Regions from separate parts of the Homo sapiens genome. Here region 2 is linked to region 1. Evidence: promoter capture Hi-C in human tissues and cell types (Jung and others, 2019). All regions are on one chromosome and are shown on one strand. Each heading gives the region's core, a stretch centred on a gene start or on the middle of the fragment in contact. The rest is flanking DNA. Distances are from core to core; before and after follow the strand shown.

What was found. The method cuts DNA at HindIII sites, captures the fragments that hold promoters and counts their contacts. A contact is called where the count stands out against the background at its distance.
Region 2: a contact is called between a fragment that was not itself captured here and the fragment with the promoter of PARVA in region 1, in 1 of the 25 tissues and cell types used here (lymphoblastoid cells).

The regions. Positions count from the first base shown.
Region 1 is chr11:12,374,519-12,379,719 of GRCh38, forward strand. PARVA (parvin alpha) reads left to right here and starts at 3,053. Exons shown (of 13, transcript NM_018222.5): 1 at 3,053-3,265. The coding sequence starts at 3,130. The HindIII fragment of the contact is 6,514 bases long and covers 1,547-5,201 here.
Region 2 is chr11:12,909,468-12,914,668 of GRCh38, forward strand. All of the region lies in intron 10 of TEAD1 (TEA domain transcription factor 1), which reads left to right. Among named protein-coding and RNA genes, the nearest start is that of TEAD1-AS1, 11 kb to the right of the region's middle. RefSeq lists an enhancer at 4,464-5,201. The HindIII fragment of the contact is 4,507 bases long and covers 754-5,201 here.

The sequences.
Region 1 (5,201 bases), core at 1,803-4,302:
TTAGTTAATCTAATATCTATAGAAACAATGCTAATGACTGGCTGGCTTGCTGTTAATAAATACGTAGGTAAATCTCTTTTCGAGGCTTTCAGCTCTGAAGACTGTGAGACCCCTGATTTCCCACTTCACACCTCTATATTTCTGTGTGTGTGTCTTTAATTCCTCTAGCGCCGCTGGGTTAGGGTCTCCCCGACCAAGCTGGTCTTGGCAGCTAATAATGGTATCCAGATCAATACTGGTTTGCAGACTACACTGTGAGTAGCACTGATTTATAATTCACCACCCATTCCCACTGGCCTTTCCAGAAAGATTGATAATGATCTTACCAGTAGAAATGCTTGAATAACAAGGTATCAGCATAATATTGAGACCCTGGCAACCATTCCCACCAATGCAGGTTACTGCATACATTAACAGGACTTTATCGTTCCCCTGTCTTCCAAAAATTTCTTGCCCAGGAAGATAAAAAGCTATGAATAACTTTCTTGTTCTTTTCAAGAACTCCCCACCAAATCTCATTGAAATGAACATAAACCCATTAGACTTTTCAATAGATAGCATTAAAAAGACTATTTACTCTCCAAGACTCTTGGAAAGCTTTGCCTAGGGTCTACCAGTCCTTATCTATTATATCATGATCCTTAGTCAAACTTAATCAAGCACCATCCCACTGGAAGGCCTGTCTTCATCAAGATTCCAAAACCTTATAAATATCCCTTCCCCTACTCCAAGATGCTACTGAGACTCTGCCAAGGCAGGGCTCTCCTTATCATGGTGTACAAAAAATTCAGCTTTGCCTTCTTCCACAGCTTATTTTGCTGATATTTTCTGGGAGCTAGCATTCAACAATCAAGACTTTACTCCTCCTTTTAGCCTTGCTCAGTGGTTTTCCAAGTTTAACGAACATAACAATTACTGAGGAGTATTATATATGCAAAAGCATGCATGGGCAACTGAAGGAATCTCCATGGGTAATTTTGATTATGGCACATTTAGGACTAAGCCTTGCATACAGATATTAGCAATTTTTGAAAGAATAAAGAACCACAGACTGTTAAGAGCTGAAAGTAGCCCTAAATGGCAAGACATCAGGGTGTGAATCAGCTATTAATACATCGAAATCACCTGATGTAGTCTGTTTAAAAAACACCTATCCCTTGGTTTCACCTGAGATCGACTGAATCAGAATTTCTGGAGATGGGGCCTGTGAATGCAACAAACTTCTAAGCGACTGTGATGCACGATCGAGTTTGAAAACCACTGTTCTGTGCCAACCATTTCATTTTGTAGATGAGGAAATGGAGACTCAGAAAAGGGAGTAAACCTTTCCAAGATCACACCGCTATTGAGCTACGTGTCTCTTAATTCCCTGACAAGAGCTCTCGGGGCTGGAGATACGCTTTTGGAGATGTCCTATATCTGATATCCTGAACAAAAATGATTAATGATGTAATCAAAACACACTTATATTTTGGCTTCTCACCATCCCTTTAAGATTTATTGTCTAGGAGGAGTTGTAGTAATCTTCCCAGGCTAGCAGACATCATGACTTTTCTGCTGTTAAGTAAGAGGCACCAACTAAAGCAGATTTTTTTTTTTTTTAAAAAAGGTAAAATTAAGACTCTTAAGATAAAATGAACCTATACGGTGTTGAGAATCTGTTGACTATCTTTTTGTTAAATTTTAGTTCTACTCAGAAACTGTTGCTTGTCACTTTATTTAGTTTAAGGAACTGTGGATGGGTTAATAAAAGGCTGAGTAACATCTCCTGGGAAGAAGCACAGCTGGCCCTGGCAGGAAGTGCAAGTGGGGTCTGGGAAAAGATTCAAGGTCCAAGCAGCTACTCCCCACGGTTTCCATTACTCAGACCACGTGGCTTCTTGAGCACACTTCTTTGCTCCATTCTTTGGTTTCCCTACTCCTCAGCATGCACGTGGCTAGAAACAGCCACCCTAGTTTTGATTGCGAATGATCATCAGTCACGAGCACAACTTCTGACAACAGTCTCTCCAGCTTAGTGCAGTCTTAACTGGGGCCAGCTGATCGTCTGCTCTTCAGTAAAGCAGTAGCGCCCTTTGGATTAGGTGTTCACCCAGGTTCAATCAGCTGTGGCCTAGAAGGGGCCACAAGGAGGAAACACAGTTGCCAAGGTGCTGTGAGTCTGTGTGTGAGAGACAGACAGAAGGACAAAGAGCCAGAGTGAGAACTTGAGATGGGTAAGCTCAATAACACGTGCCTTTTAATCATTTCCAGTATGAGTCCTTCAAACACTGTGCTTTGTATGACTCCCCTGTTATCTCAAATGAGTCTGGTTGTCACTCTCTTGCTTTTATTTAGGCAGGATAAATTTTGCGGGAAGTCCTGTAGGAGCTCATGGTTGTGCTTTTCCCATTCATGTTTCCACCACCACGTGGGATCTTCCTTTGTATAAGCTGCTGGAAACACGGATGTCTTACAAGAATAAGAAGCCTCGGCTTTACCCTTGTGCACTCCAAGCTTCTCAGTCTTGGATGGGAGTAGAGACGAGGAGGTTGACGGTCATGGATAGGTTCAGGAGTGATTGGTTCTGCCCACTTTGGTGGGGCCTGGACACATTTTGGTTCACTGCAATAATTTCTTCCAGGAGCTGCAGTCTTGTGGGCGCAAGACGTGGGCCTGATAACCCCACAGGCAGTAGTGCTGGGGCAGAGCGAGCTCACCAGCCGCCGGCTGGAAGACCCCGGGAGAGTAGCAGGGTTGGGTTGGTTCTCAGATGTGTTTTGCGCCAGGCTGTGTGGTGGGGACAGAGCCTGGGTAAATGAAGCTTTCCGGCTCGACCGCTCCCAACCTGGGCACACACGTCCTCCTGTCCTGCAAGGGGCAGTTTTGGGGCATCCTCCCTGCTTGGGGCAACCCAGGGGCGCAAGGCGCGGCCCCGGGAGCGCAGCTCCTTCCAGGGCAGAGGGCGGCGCGAGGGAGGGAGCGAGGGAGGGAGCGAGGGAAGGGAAAGGCGAGCGTGAGCTGCCTCAAATGCTTGGAATAATTCCGCTTCCGTTTGGAAAGCCGCAGCCTCAGTCCCGCCGCCGCCCGCTGCGTCCGCCCAGCGCCAGCTCCGCGTCCCGACCGGCCCGCGGCAGCCTGCGCCGCGCCATGGCCACCTCCCCGCAGAAGTCGCCTTCTGTCCCCAAGTCTCCCACTCCCAAGTCGCCCCCGTCCCGCAAGAAAGATGATTCCTTCTTGGGGAAACTCGGAGGGACCCTGGCCCGGAGGAAGAAAGCCAAGGAGGGTGAGTGCGGCCAGGCCGGCCGGGCGGGCGGTAGGAGCCGGGGGTGCCGTAGGGGCCGAGGGGCCGGGGCACTGGGACCGGGCGGGAGCGCGCCGCGGGTGCCCGGCGCGGTGGGGCGCGCGGCGATGCGTGCGCGCGCTTCCCGGGTACGTCGGGCAGGAGCGACGCGCACCCCACACTGAGCCCGGGGCTCGCGGGCCATCGAGGCCACCCCGCCCGCTCGCGGTCGCCCGGGCGCTGCCCTCCTGGGCCGGGGACCAGGCCAACGCCCCCGCCGGGCCGTGGGCGGGCGCCGCTTGGCGGCCGGAGGCGGCGGGACCGGAGCCCAGGCGGGGCCCCAGCCCGCAGACAGTGCGATCCAGTAGGCCCTGCCCCGCCCTCTGCGCCCGAAGGCTGGCATTTCCCAAGTTTCCGCTGCAGCTTTCCTGGGCGCCGTCGCTCTTACTCGTTGCCTTCATTGGTCCTTAAAATCAGGTCGTTTCCTGGACCTGCTGACGTCCTCTGGCAGCGGCGTCGTGGCTTTGGCCTCTTCGGGATCTTTTGTCCATCCCGAGGGCTGAGAAGGGCTCTGTTAATGGAGTAGGTGGACATCGAGTGTTTGTTGAATGAATGAGCGAAAAACTGGCAAACCTAGCGTGCCCTCGGTGTAATACACAATAAACTCCCACCAAAGGAGAAAACCTGCGTGAGACACAAACTTCGTCATGGGCCTGCTGTGAACTCAGGCATTCAGGGCTTTCGTAAAAACCTTTGTTTTTTCCCCACCAGAGTGAATTGAGGCGACCTTATTCTTTTTTTTTTTTTTTTTTTTCAGGGTAGTTTGCATGTAAAATATTTTTTTTTCCCATGCACAGATTTTGCGTCCTGGTTTTTGGTTTGAAAACGAGGTGGCAGTTCTCAAGAAGCACTGTGGTGACTGGTGTGTAGATAGAAGTTGCTGAGTTAAACATTTTTGTTTTAAACATTTTTTAGTTGATGCATGATGTACATAGTTCTGGGGCACATGTGATAATGTAATACATTCATATAATTTGTAAAGATCAAATTGCACAGGAAAGGGGTCCCAGTCCAGACCCCAAGAGAGGGTTCTTGGATCTCACGCAAGAAAGAATTCAGGGTGAGTCCACACAGTAAAGTGAAAGCAAGTTTATTAAGAAAGTAGAGGAATAAAAGAATGGCCACTCCATAGACAGAGCAGCCTGGGGCTGCTGGTTGCCCATTTTTATGGTTATTTCTTGATGGTATGCTAAACAAGGGGTGGATTATTCATGTCTCCTCTTTTTAGACCATATAGGGTAACTTCCGGACGTTGCCGTGGCATGTGTAAACTGTCCTGGCGCTGCTGGGAGTGTATCAGTGAGGACGACCAGAGGTCACTCTTGTCGCCATTTTGGTTTTGGTGGGTTTTAGCCGACTTCTTTACTGCGACCTGTTTTATCAGCAAGGTCTTTATGACCTGTATCTTGTGCCCACATCCTATCTCATCCTGTAAGTTAGAATGCCTTAACCTTCTGGGAATGCAGCCCAGTAGGTCTCACTCAGCCTTGTTTTACCTGGCCCCATTCAAGATGGAGTTGCTCTGGTTCACATGCCTCGGACAAAATCACTGTACTTGGGATATCCATCACGTTAAAGATTTGTCTTTTCTCTATGCTAGACCACTGGAATTCTAGATATTTTGAAATATACAAGAGGTTATTGTAAAATATAGTTAGTTTACCAATCTAACACTAGGTCTTCTTATATCAAATGGTATATTTGTAACCATTAATCAACTTCTCTTCCCCCCTAAAAAATGTTTTTAATAGATTGCTCCATGAATTAGAAATAACCTTTTGAAAGCTGTGATGCTGTGTGAAATTTTCATGTTTGTAAGTCATCTTAAAGTATAAAAACATCTTCAGCGCTGAGGATTATCAGACTTGATGAAGAACTA
Region 2 (5,201 bases), core at 1,757-4,256, 530 kb after region 1:
GAACAATGAGAACACAGGGACACAGGGAGGGGAACATCACATACCAGGGCCTGTTGCGGGGTGGGGGGCGAGGGGAGGGAACTTAGAGGACAGGTCAATAGGTGCCACAGACCACCATGGCACACGTATACCTATATAACAAACCAGCACGTTCTGCACATGTATCCCAGAAATTGAAGCAAAATTAAACAAAAAAGCATCTTCTCCACCCCTAGGCAGAGGAGTAGGTTGTGACTGGTTATTATCACCTGACCCTGGCCAGCATAGAAGACATCTTGCCATTCCCTGGACACCTTAGTTGAGTTATTTGCACTTTATAGTACCATAGCAGTTGAATTTTAGCTTAAATTTAAATCCCTAATTAAACCATCTCGGAAAATTACGCATTGATGTGGCATTGAAATTGTTATTATGGTTCAAGAGGAGTTTTGGAACCAGATTTTTTATAAATGAGGCAAGTACTTGTACTGGCAGCTAGTCATACTTCTTTTTTCCTTACAAAACATGATCAGGTGCTGTGTAGGCTCTAGGAAAGAGGGATGTCCACCCACAAATGGATGAAGCTGTGCTTCATTGCAGCATTGAGATTCAGGCAGATGGATTGCCAGTGACGTGGCAGACAGTGCAATTAATGTAACAAAATGTCAACAGCCTTGGGAATTGATCATAGATTGAATTCCCAGAGCTAGAAGACATGAGTATGATTCAGTCATGCATCCCGAAGGACAAAAACCCAAGTGTAGCTCACAGCTGACTGTCAAAAGCAGTTAATTTCTAGCTATATGAAGTTTACAGAAGGAAATAAAATTACAGATTTAACCAAATAAGACATGCAATTGAGACTAATACCTTTGGAGGGGCCTCAGAATTCTATTTCCTGTCCTAATAATGTTCAAGGGTGTCAAGATTGGAAACACTGCTCTAAAGAAAGCTGTATGCTTTTAACATTCTATTCATAAACATTATAACCCAAAACTATTCATAATAATAATTAGTACAGTAAAGGCTTAGTCTTAAACTTTGATTGGAATAATAAAGAAGAAAGCAATATGAAAGTGAAATCTTACGGATTTGTATCATGTTGCCAGGTTATAACAAATTTTTAAATATACATTTAATATTTCTGCTTTCACTCTAATCATTATCAAATTAGTCATATCTTAGAAACCAGGATATATGATGTTATCCTATACTTATTTAAAATTGTTTTGTATTTTAAAATTCTTGGGATTATGATCATTCAGTGTAAACAATACTGTCTACATAGTTACTTAATTTGCTTTTTTTTTTTTTTTTTGAGATGGAGTCTCGCTCTGTCTCACAGGCTGGAGTGCAGTGGCACAGTCTCGGCTCACTGCAACCTCTGCCTGTCGGGTTCAAGCGATTCTCCTGCCTCAGCCTCCCGAGTAGCTGGGATTACAGGCACCTGCCACTGTGCCCAGCTAATTTTTGTATTTTTGGTAGAGATGGGGTTTCGCCATGTTGGCCAGGCTGGTCTTGAACTCCTGACCTCAGGTGATCCACCCGCCTTGGCCTCCCAAAGTGCTGGGATTACAGGCGTGAGCCACCATGCCTGGCCAATTTACTTTCTTAACCTATTATTTTTAAAGGAAGAAAAAGCAAGCCTACTTTTACTAACCATAGCAGATGTGAGAAGATTTTATAAAACAAAAAAAGGGGAAGCAAGTTACCTGGAAAGAGGACAGCCATTAGAAGATGCTTTTGTCTTGGTAGAAATGAAATCACATTTGTTCAACAAAATGACAGTCACTCTACATAAAACTGGGTTTTATTTAAAGAGAAGAAACTGGGCGCACAATAACCCAGCAGAACAGACCCCACCCCCATTGGAGTCTCAGCTTGTTTCTAATTGTATTCTGCATGATTTAGATTGGAATTGTAGACCTGAGTCTGTCATTTGGAACCAAACGTCCTGTTGCTATTCATGGAAGAGGGAGTTAACAATACGAAATCGTTTGCTTTCCACATGTTTTGAACTGCTATCAGGAAGGAGGGGCCTTTCAGCTCAATAAGTTTTCCATTTCTCCCTACTTCTGTCTCATCTCAAAATGCGTTTTAAAGTTAACTGAACAATATTAAGTGATGAAATGATTTAAGTAGAAGAAAGATTAGTGAGAAGTATCACGATATTCAGAGGTACTTGGGGGCTAATACATGTTAAATTTTAAGTAGACTGTGGTTACATGAGTCTTTTTTTTTTTTTTTTAATTATCTCTTGATAGGCCCTGCTATTGTAAGCACAGGAAGAGAGAAATCAATACATTTGTATATCTGCCCATTTTGGTTTGTTTTCGTAAGAAAAATATCTGGAGCTTGTGAGCACTTTCTGTGGTGACTGCTGCTTGGGATTGCTCCTTCCTGGTTCCCGAACCCTGGATGCCAAACTTCTTTGTAGGCCTTTCTAAGGGAGCGTACCCTGTCTGTGGCCTGTGTTCAGTGCTGCAATGTATATAATAGATTTTCAAGGCTTTTTTTTTTTAAGTTACCTGGAAAGTTATTTTATTTCAATCAGTAAATGGTCCTAAAGAAATTGCTGTGCATTGGGCACTCTGCCACATTGCCAACTCACATTACCACCTGAGAGTTTGTTGAGGAATCATCCGCAAGCAATTCGTAGGAGGAAAAGGAGACCTCAAGAGACTCACTTGAAAGCTTTTCTGGGCCATCTCGTTGCTAGAAAGTCATTCAACAAACATTTGCCAATGTCGTCTTTGCTTCTGGAAAACTGGGAAGCAGATGTGATTGAGAGTTCTGATTTGCAGGCTCAGGGTCTGGTGAGGGATGGCAGACATGTGGGCAGGTGAACAACAGCACCGAGGGGTGGGAGCTGTAGTGGAAGTGGGCAGAAGTTGCTGTGGAAGCACAGAGGTGGAACCCTTTTTGCCTGAGAACATTTCGGAAGGGCTCACAAAGACATGGCATTTAAACAGAATCTTGATAGAATTTGGTCAGTGCAAGGGGAGTGAGAAGGAGTTTTCAGGGCAGTGGATACTCATGTACAGACAAGGAGTCCTGGGAGGTGGCGAGAGGTCCCCATGGCCACTGGGGCTTACCGAACTCAGAGAATAGGGAGAGATGTGGGTGGAAACCCTGGTCACAGGGGCATTCACTTCAAAAGACCATACCTGAATCCTCTGAAAGCCTAAAACGTAGTAGGAATGAAATCATGGATTTCACAGGATAGGATAGCTTGGAAAATGAGCACAAGAGCTTACATTGCTTTTCCTCCCATCCTCTTCTATCAAACCACAGATACTTCTCTTTTTTTTAAACCTTTGACTCTGAAGTCTTCAGGGCTTCCGGGCAGAATCTCTTGCATTGGGAGTTGCCTTGACCTGGAGGAATTCATTCCAACAGCTATTCCTAAAAGACTTTCTGTCCTGGGTCCTTTGTCTCTGTGATTGCTAAGAAAGCCCAGGTCAGGGGTCTGTCCCTTCCTTCTGGGGCCATTTAATTCCACTCCCTTCTGTGGCTACAGACTGAGATGCTAAGCCACGATCCCACCTGAGCTGCTGCCACAATTAGCTTGATTCATGCTGTCACCTTTACCATTTCACCTCAAGAAAAACCTGAGAAGGAAAGAATTGATGTGCCATAGTCGGGGTGGCTGCATATTTTCAGACCCAGTTTTGCAAGGCGTAGTTGGATTAACTGGACACTTCAGGGATCTCAGTCAGTTGCTTAAAACTGAACCTAGGCCCTTGGTGGTGTGAGAGACCCCCTCTCCATGTGCAGGTAAAGATCCACGGTACCTCCTACCCCCCAGTCCACCCCATGTTAATTTACTTTTTAAATTAAAAAAGTGATGCAGGTTTGTTATGAATAGTTTGAGCAGTTGAAAAGAATATAGAATAAAAAGTGAGATCCTCCTTGCACACATACATGCCTGTGGTCAGCCAGATCCCAAAATTTGGAATGTATCCTTTTAGACTTATACGTATGTATCTACAACCATTATACGTATACATATACATCACTTGTTTTTACTAAAAAGGGATTATGCTCCAAGTGTTTCCTGCAACTTCATTTTCCCTACCTAAAGTGTCTTGGACATATGATGCCTTTTACAGCAATGAGAATTTGAGGGTAAGTCTCAGTTTTTATTCTCTGTGGTAAAGGTTTCTTGATAAGTAGAGTTGTCAGATTTATCAGGTTGCCCAGTTAAATTTGCATTTCAAATAAACAGTGAATACTTTTTTGGTGTACATGTCCTATACAGTATTTGGTATATATGTTCATATGTACTGAAAAAGTATTTGCTGTTCATTTGAGATGTGAGTTAACTGGGTTCCCCGTTTTATCTGGCAGCTCTGCACTTGTTAGTTCACTTACGTATCATTGGCTTGGGGTTGTTATTGTTGTTCTATGAAAAACTTTTCATGCACAAAACCTTGAAACCATAAAAAGGTCCTGTTTCCTGGGAAAGGTGGTGTCTGGGCCAGTGTTCACACACCTGATGAATGAGAAAGGTTTGGGGCCAGCTCAGCTGGGCACCCAGAATTCATTACTTGCCTCTATTGGAAAGAACTGGCCCGTGTAGCTGCTTTGTAGTTGGAGCTGAGACCTGACTCTTTCATCCTAGCCACTATGTGAAGTTGCCACTAGTGGTCACCTGAAGTTGTGTGGGTGATATTAATTGAATTTTTGAAAAACTAAATGCTGGTATTTGTAGGAATTTGCAGTGCAGACGGGCAGCCTTTCAACCAGTGCATAGCATAATTAGAGCAAGCTTTTAAGATTCTTTGAAGTGCCAAATGTTTATGAAATTCAAATAGGGGTGCCAATCTGCACAATAAAGGGGCCCTTGGTGGTGTTTTTAAAAATCTTCTATTTTGTAGATGTAAATATATGCCATAATTAGCGGGAAGTAACTTGAAGAGCCACGGCTGAGTTTATTCCTATTATTCTTATTTAAAACAGCTGTGGCAGGCAGGCTACAGCTGCTGTCTCATCATTGGGTTGGGCAGGGCATAAGGGCCGAAGTGAACACACTCAAAGACTCTTTTCTGAGGGCAGCTCGTTCACTCCCCCTACATGCTGGCTTCCTTGCTGGGGAGCTGTCTCACGGTTGGCCCAGCTTCCCCACCCACCCCAAGCCTCTGAATGTCAATGGGACTGGCTTCAAGGGTCTTAGCCAGAAGGCACTTGCCTGCAAATGAGAGGGCGAGGAGCCTTTTAGA